Regions from separate parts of the Homo sapiens genome. Here all the other regions are linked to region 1. The links are contacts of gene promoters, found by promoter capture Hi-C in human tissues and cell types (Jung and others, 2019). All regions are on one chromosome and are shown on one strand. The core of a region is centred on a gene start or on the middle of the fragment in contact, and the rest is flanking DNA. Distances in the headings are between cores, read along the strand shown.

Region 1 (2,749 bases), core at 116-2,615:
TCTGTATTCGAGAGCTCAGAGGGAAAATAAACATCCAATAAAATAAAGATTAAGGAGATAAGTGCTGCAATAGATGTGTGTACCAGATTTAGAGACAGTGCAGAGAAAGTTGTGGCATTGTTATTATTTTGCAGGGAGGTGGGGGAAGCATGAGGAGCTCTTGCCATTTTTCTGAAGCATGGAGGGATCTGAAAGTGACTGATCTCTGAAGAGGACTTCGTTTTCCCAATAGTCACTTACTTTCTTTGCTTATAGAAGTCCTTCTAGAAGAGTTCAGAGCCCTAATGCAAAGAGTGTTTCCAAACTTGGATTCCAAAGTTACTATCATTCCTTTTTTACTTTAATTATGCTTGAGGTATAGTCTTCCTTCCCCTCTTATCATTGAACTTCTTCAGTGGGCCTTTACTGTTAAAACTGATGCATGCAAGGAATTTTCCTTGATTTGATGATTTGATGCAGATTTGGATATATCCTTAACATTTTATATAACAAGGCTAGAACCAGAGCCTTCTTGCAAATAGGGGTTAACTAATAACTTAGTAAATTAAGCGGACATGCTTAGACTATCTGCTGCCATGACAATGGAGAGACCAGGTTGAAAACCTGTAACCTGGACACTGCAGTAGAGGTAAGATCTTTTCTAGATCATTGGTTCACTTCCTCTATGCATCAGCTGTGAAAATGTGGCCTCAGATACTATCTCCTGGCATGCACTTTTCATTATAATTATGCATGGTCCATGCCTCAGTCCCAGTTGGAAACACACCTGTGATTTGCTTTTAAAAATAAGATGAATTCAAAGATTAAATGAAATCAGTCATTGTAATAGGAAACACTGCATAGAAAAAATACGTTTTAAATATATTCTGGATCTCTCTTTTGATTCATTGGTAGAATTTTTACATGTTAGTGACTTCATGAAGATTTATAACTGTTTAGCAGATACATGAGCTACTTCAATTTTCATATAATTTTTTTTAATTTTAAAATAATAATGGCATAGTTCTGCATGATAGAAAACCAGCTTTTGTTTTTAAGGAAATCTCACAATATTCTTTCATTATGAAAACATGCCATTTTTCAGTAAAGTCACGCAAAAGGATGTTTTCCTTCATGTGATTTTTTAATAACTAAGTATAATTTATGAAATATATAGACAATTACTGGTAGTTGCTAAGAAACTCTTCTGAAAGCCATAAGCCTGTATTCTTGCTAAGCACATAACAGGTGTTCCCACTCCCTGTGTCCTTTGTATACACATTCATTCTGTATTCAAATCACAGAAGCAAGAGGCAAGATAGGGTCTGTTACCTCACTGCTAATTTCCCTAGCAAATAAACCAGCAGCTGCTGGTCCAAGTTACCACTGAGAACAGGGCACTGCATGCATGGGACAGGATGCTTTCATGGAGCCCTTCGGTGACACACTTGGGGTCTTTCAGTGCAAAATATACCTCCTTCTCTTCGGTAAGGCCCTGTGTGAATTGTGTTTTAGCTGTTTGTTAGGTTTTTTTTTTTTAATTGTGGACATAAGGTAAATATTTGCTTTAGGCTGTAGATGCATTCAGATAATTGAAGAGCAGGTCAGAACCTTTTAACAATAACACACTGTTACAGCAAAGAAGCAGGAACATTTAAGAGAAATGAGTTTCAATAAATAGATTGTTATTGTTTTCTTGGAACAACAATTATTGTCATAGCACTCATTAAGATAATTCAGATATTTTTAAAAGATAATGAATTTCTTCTTTTAGAGTTTACATATAGGTTCAATAGTCTTTAATGCATTTATTTCAGCAAATATTCTAATAGGCCATGAAATTGTGACCACTTAGAGTGAAACTACAAATAATTTACGAAAATTGTTTTCTTTTTAATTAAAGATATTGTTGCAAACTGTTTACTGCTTCGTTTTAAGTTATCTGTCTCATCTTATGAAATATGGAAGAAAGGTAAGATTCCAAACTAACAAAAAAATTTCCTACACAAAAGGGAGAACGTATTTGAAAAGATTGTTACTCCAAAATGCCTTTAGCTTTTCTCTTTGCCCAATGGCTAGTCCTATTAAGAATTTTTTTCTACCTTAATATTTTCCCTCATTCTCCTCTTTATCTTTTGAGTTTAAAGGAGTCTCTTTCCAGCATTCCAACTGCTGTCTGTCAACATTATTTTCACCAGATGTTCTCATTTCCATTCTTCCTATTTATCAGTTTTAAAAGTCAAATCAATTTCTTGTTTTGTTTATATTCAACAGATAGGAGTTCAATTAAGGCTACATTTTTTAAAAATTAAGAACAGCTTAGCAAAATAAGCAATTTAACTTTTAGGCTTCTTCAGCTATTTAGAGCTTTACTTTCACTCCTATATTTTGTTAAAGTTTGCATTGTAAATGTTATTATTCAAATTCATACCTACTGTTGTACCTATCTCACACATTTGAAATGTACAGTTTGTAAATTTTTTTAAGTCTTTGAGTTTCCCAGAGTTGTGATTGTTCCAGTTATCACAGTATTTATGTTATCAAATTTAAGCCTATAATAGATTTTTGTTTTCTAAAATTTTTTGAAAAAGTAAATAATTATTATAACTGTCACTACCTTTGTGCATTTGTCTTCCTTTTGAAAGTATCCTGGGTCATCATCCCACTTATTTTTATATTTAAAACAGTAGGACTACTATCATTTTATAAGTGTTGTTTTTGAAACTGGCGTTAAGAAGAACTTAGAGACAATTTAGTTAAGGAATTCAAC
Region 2 (2,749 bases), core at 67-2,566, 330 kb before region 1:
GCAATGGAAGGTTTAATCTCTGACCCTGACAAGTTTTACAGTTAAAGTTTAAATCCAGATTTCTTAAACAAACTAACAAAAGCAGAAATGACAAATAGGTTTCTTTTCATTTGTCTGCTCTAGATCTCTGCTTTGAGAAGGATGCTGAGGTCACATCTAGGTGCAGTGGGATTTAGTGACGTGTTAGAAGGCAATATCTATCATGGCAATACAGTGGGATAGCATGGATTTGTACCATGTAGTTACTATCCCTGCTTGCTTTTGGATCACACAGACATCCTTTTGTATAGTCAAATATGATATAATTTTGTGGAGAAGAAGACACTAACATTTGGTGGAAGAGTACAGAAGATTAATCTGAACCAAGTGCTTTTCAAAGCACTTCGCATGTACTCACTCATAGAATCATCATAACAACACTATAAATATATGCTGTTATTAGCCCCATTTTCCAAATGGGGACATTGAGGCACAGAAACCGTCAGTAACTTGCCCAAGTGATACAGCTAATAATGAGCAGAGCTTATTGACAGATCTGTCAGGAAGTCTGACCCCACTCTGTGTCTTTACCATTTGTATTAATCTGCCTCCAAAATTTGTTGTGCAAAAAAAAAAGGGTAAGTTTTCATTAACATCTTTCTATGGCATGCATTTTGTAAACCTAGCACCACAGAACGTTCATGTAACAAGTGATCTTGCTCATTATCTGGACCAAACTTCTGTCTGTTAAAGGATCCTGTCCTTAATACCCAGTACCTCCTCAGGATCTCCCAGCTCTTCCCTTGTTGAGCAGCTCTGGAAACTCTTTGACATATTGAACCAAAATCTCCCTACCTCTGATTTGCACCTTTGGTGGAGCAACACAAACCAATCTACACTGTCTTCCACAGAATGACAATCAACATCTTGTCAGTGAAATATCTCCACCATGGGTGAAATTCGATGAGAAAAGAGATAGCAGATTTTTAAAATAACCCATAATTGGATAAAAGTCATTTTATTTGAAAACTTTTTCCCTCTAAAATAACGTGATATATTTTGAAAGAAGAAGGTGTGAGGTCAGGTGTCCATTATGTAGCCAGACAGATGGATACGTTGTTGTTTTACCATTGCCATAGAAACAAGTGCTATGTTTATCTCATTCAGTGAGGAAGAATTTCTCGGGTCTTTCCCAAAAGTTGTGATATGTGCTACACTGAATATGGCCCACCATGTCTATCTGGACAAAATAAATCCCCTTTTTACCGGGGAGGAGTGCTACACAGGGAAGAGGGGAACTCTACTTGAGCATTTCTTCCTATGAGCTCTGTCAATTTCTTGTTATTTGAGATTCACAAATTCTCTTTAATATAACAATCTATTAATGTGCTATATTCATGTTTGGAGATAATGCTAATTGTCAAAGAAATTAGGCTTCTAGTTCTAACCTCTAGAGAACATGGGAAAAGACCAAAGAGGAGTAATTACAGAGATGTGGTTTAATATAAAGGTTTTATATCAAACCGGATTCAGCCATACTCTAGGCCATGAAAGTGGCTTTTGTAAAGACGGTGCTGAATAAAATATAGCCTATCAATGGGTTCACAAAGATCAGTATTTAACCTTAGTTTTAGTTGAAATCATATTTGTAGGCCCATTCATTTGCATACCAATAAAGCTGAATCTTAGCTTTAAATGACTTAATGTAAGACCTGAAACAGTGTGGCCTTGGAAAGGGCATCACATAAACTATTAGGACACCCGAGTTCCATCTCCAGCTCTGCCAACAGGTTTTGTGACTTTGGTAAGCTCATAATATTTACTGAGCAACTGTTTGGTTTTGAGAAGTTGAGCTGGGCATTTTACCTTATTTAATTTTCATAGCCACTTTCTAAGTTAGGTAATACATTTACCTTGTACAGATGAGAAAATTTAGTCTGAAGGGCTAATGAACAATGCCCAAGATCACTCAGCTGATAAATGGCAAGGCTAGAATGTGATGACTCAAGCTTTTCTCTGCATTAAACTATTCCTATCACTTCACCTCCTGAGTTTTAGTGTGTATCTTTGTAGCCACGAGGTCGACATGCTCTGCACATTCTTTGCCACATTGACATTCTTTGATTTCAGGGTAAATATTTCAATATAATGTCCTGTTCTTTTTATTATGATTATCCATTTCACTGACTGCTGACAGACCTTTTTCTTAATTTGTGTCATCTATATTGAAAATATATCTCAATCATATTTACCAAAATATGAAATCTCTACTTAAATGGGCTTAACACACTGTATCAGCAGGATATAATTTCACATTTGTGTTATCTGTAAAATAAAGCAAAATACTGCAGAATTTGACTCCTACAGTCCAAAACTACAGATACCTTTGCTGACAGTAGAGGTCACTGGCACCTTCCATCCTCTCCATCCAGGAGATGCTCCCCACAAAGGGTGGTTCTTAAATTTGTTTCCCAAAGGGTCAGGGGATGGTAGACCAGAAGCTCCTACAAGATTTTACCAAATTCCTCTTTACTTTTCCTGTCACTTTTGACCTGGTGCCTACAAATAAAGTTACTATCGTATTTGTGGAAATGGATCCCAAAATAACTGGCACTAAAAAAACCTGTAAAGAAGTTGTTGTTATGGTTGTTTGAACATTTAAGAATTGATTATGAGCATGTGAATCATGTAATCAAAAAGTCCTCGGTAATAAATAGGGACATCGCTTGTCAAATGAGTTGGAAAAGTTTTGCCTGCATATATCCAGAGC
Region 3 (2,749 bases), core at 159-2,658, 330 kb after region 1:
CTATGATATTCCCTTTCTAAAGACCTTCTCTACTGATTTCAGACTTTCTTAGTAAGCCCCAACAATCACACAAGCCAATCCATATGTGTGTGTGTGTGTGTGTGTCTATCTGTATGTGTACACACACATCTCTATCTTTCTATACATGTATCTATCTATCTGCATCTATATCTGTCTATATATATGTGTATGTGTGTGTGTGTGTGTGTGTGTATTTAAATTTGAATTTGTATTTATAATTATTCTCCCTGCTGGTTCTGCTTCTCTGGTTGAACCCTGACTGATACAGTATAATATTTTTACATAGTCAATCTATCAATATTCTCATTTATAGCTGCTGGGTTTTGTGTCTTGCTGACTTAGTCTTCATATAAATATGTTTGTAAGTCATGATTATACAGAATTGGTAGTAATGGCTAAAGATTGAAAAGCCCCTTCACTCCTCTCTACTATTTCTTCCCCATCTAGAAGTAACCATTGTTAATAAGTTGGACTATATTTGTCAAGCCTATTTTTTATACAAAAAAATAGCCCGTGTGTGTGTGTGTGTGTGTGTGTGTGTGTGTGTGTAAAAGTCTACAAAGTGAGCTGGAAGAACACATCCCAACTTAATGACAATGATTACATGTAAATGAGAAAAAAGTGGTAGACAGAAGTGAAAAGGGACTTTCAGCATTTTGTACTTTTGATTGTCTAAATCTTAGATAATGAGAATCTATTTGTATTTAAGTGATTTTTATATTAAAAAAACTTCATAAAAATTATTAATAATGATTCCATGATTCCAATATTTCAAATTTGGGTAAGCCAAGAGATAATGGTTCCATTGAGATAAATAAAAATGCCAAAAACCAGATGTTTACTTCAAGAATTACAAACTCCAAAGCCATGCTTAAATGCATAATAAAAGACAATAGGAAGATTGAATGTGGTGTCTAGCTAGGAGCACATGCTTGACCTAACTTTCAAAAGTCTACGGACAAATAAAACATATCTACAGGCCAAATTTGGCTTTTGGGCCATAGCTGTGTAACCCTTCCAACGATATAGGAAAAGAAGAGGTTGATTTCAAATCAAGAACGATAGAATTTGAGCCTTAGAGATGTTTTTAAAATCATAAAAGCTAAGACTCCAGTAAAAACAACAGCATAATTTGGTAAGAACTTGTTCCTTTTGAAAGGTGTATTATAGATACACACTCATGTTGTTTAAGAATTTCATCCTATTCTGATTTAATTTTGGCTGAAGGGCTGGAGCAATACAAAATTCTCTTCATCTACTTTCAGATAAATAGGAAGAGACACATTTCTCATAAAGACAATTTAGTAAGAGCTCTATTAAGTTTAGGAAACTGAGAAATGGCAAATTTTGAATTTTACAGTGTGACATTTAATAGAAGCTTCCATTAGAAATACCATACTTAATATCAAATGTTTTTTTTTAAAAATGAGGGACAGCAACATGGCCAGGACTCAGCATTTATCTCACACTTGTCAAGGTATAACTGTTGAGCAGACACTGTAATGGATAACAGCCCACAAATGTTTACAGACCAAAAATTAATCAATGTAATACATCATATCAATACAATAAAGAACAAAACATGATCATCTCACATGATCATCTCAATAGAAAAGGGAAACATTTCACACAATGCAAGACTAAAATATTGTTTATAAAAAACTAGGAATGGAAGGGAACTTTCTCAGCTTGATAAAGTGCATATATGAAAAACCCACAGTTAATACATGTTGAGCATCCCAAATCTGAAAGTCCAAAATCCAAAATGCCCTAAAATCCAAAGCTTTTTGAGTGCTGACATCACGCTCAAAGGAAATGTTCACTGGATCATTTCAAATTTTTGGTTTTTTTATTTGGGATATTCAACTGGTAAGTACAATGCAAATATACCAAAATCCAAAAAAACAACCACCAAATCCAGAACACTTCTGATCCCAACTAGTTCAGGTAAGGTATATACAACTTGTGTAATACATAAGGGTGAAGAACTGAATGTTTTTCCCCTAAGATCAGGAACAAGACAAGAGTGATTATTCTCACTACTTCCATTTAACATTATACAAGGTGAGCCAATTAGGGGAGAAAATGAAATGAAAGCAATAAAATTTGAAAGAAAGAAGTAAAATATATGTATACATGACATGATTAAGTCATCATGATTCAGAAAATCCTAGATAATCTAGCAAAAACTATTCAAACTAATAAGTTTTGCAATGCTGCAGGATACAAGATCATTATACAAAAATCAATTGTATTTCTACACACTTGCACTGAACAATCCAAAATGAAATAAAGAAAATAATTTCATTTCTTATAGCATCAAAAATAATAAAATATTTACAAATATATTTAACAAAGGAAGTGAAAAACTTGTGTTCTGGAAAGTATAAAATATTATTGAAAGAAATTAAAGACAACCTAAATAAATGGAAAGACATACCATTTTCATAGATCAGATACCATGAATACACCCATGTTCATGGGCAATATTTCCCAAACTGATCTACAGATTCAACTCAACTATTCAAACCATTCAATGGACAAAGAATAGACTTTGTAGCAAATGGTGCTGAACCCTTGCCTCACACTATGTAGAAAAATTCACACAAAATAGATCAAAGACCTCACTGTAAGAACTACTATAGTTTCATAAAACTAGTTTACAAAATGAAAACTATAAAACTCTTAAAAGAAAATATCAGCTTAAACCTTTATAACCTTGAGTAAG

What was found. The method cuts DNA at HindIII sites, captures the fragments that hold promoters and counts their contacts. A contact is called where the count stands out against the background at its distance.
Region 2: a fragment that was not itself captured here is called in contact with the fragment with the promoter of HEPACAM2 in region 1 in 1 of the 25 tissues and cell types used here (lymphoblastoid cells).
Region 3: a fragment that was not itself captured here is called in contact with the fragment with the promoter of HEPACAM2 in region 1 in 1 of the 25 tissues and cell types used here (aorta).

What each region holds. Positions count from the first base shown.
Region 1 is chr7:93,225,085-93,227,833 of GRCh38, reverse strand. HEPACAM2 (HEPACAM family member 2) reads left to right here and starts at 1,365. Exons shown (of 10, transcript NM_001039372.4): 1 at 1,365-1,466. The coding sequence starts at 1,388. The HindIII fragment of the contact is 8,113 bases long and covers 1-2,749 here.
Region 2 is chr7:93,551,349-93,554,097 of GRCh38, reverse strand. The region is part of intron 2 of CALCR (calcitonin receptor); the gene reads left to right. The region is part of intron 2 of LOC105375400 (a long non-coding RNA gene); the gene reads right to left. Among named protein-coding and RNA genes, the nearest start is that of CALCR, 22 kb to the left of the region's middle. The HindIII fragment of the contact is 5,748 bases long and covers 1-2,749 here.
Region 3 is chr7:92,899,376-92,902,124 of GRCh38, reverse strand. The region is part of intron 1 of CDK6-AS1 (CDK6 antisense RNA 1); the gene reads right to left. Among named protein-coding and RNA genes, the nearest start is that of CDK6, 64 kb to the right of the region's middle. The HindIII fragment of the contact is 6,286 bases long and covers 1-2,749 here.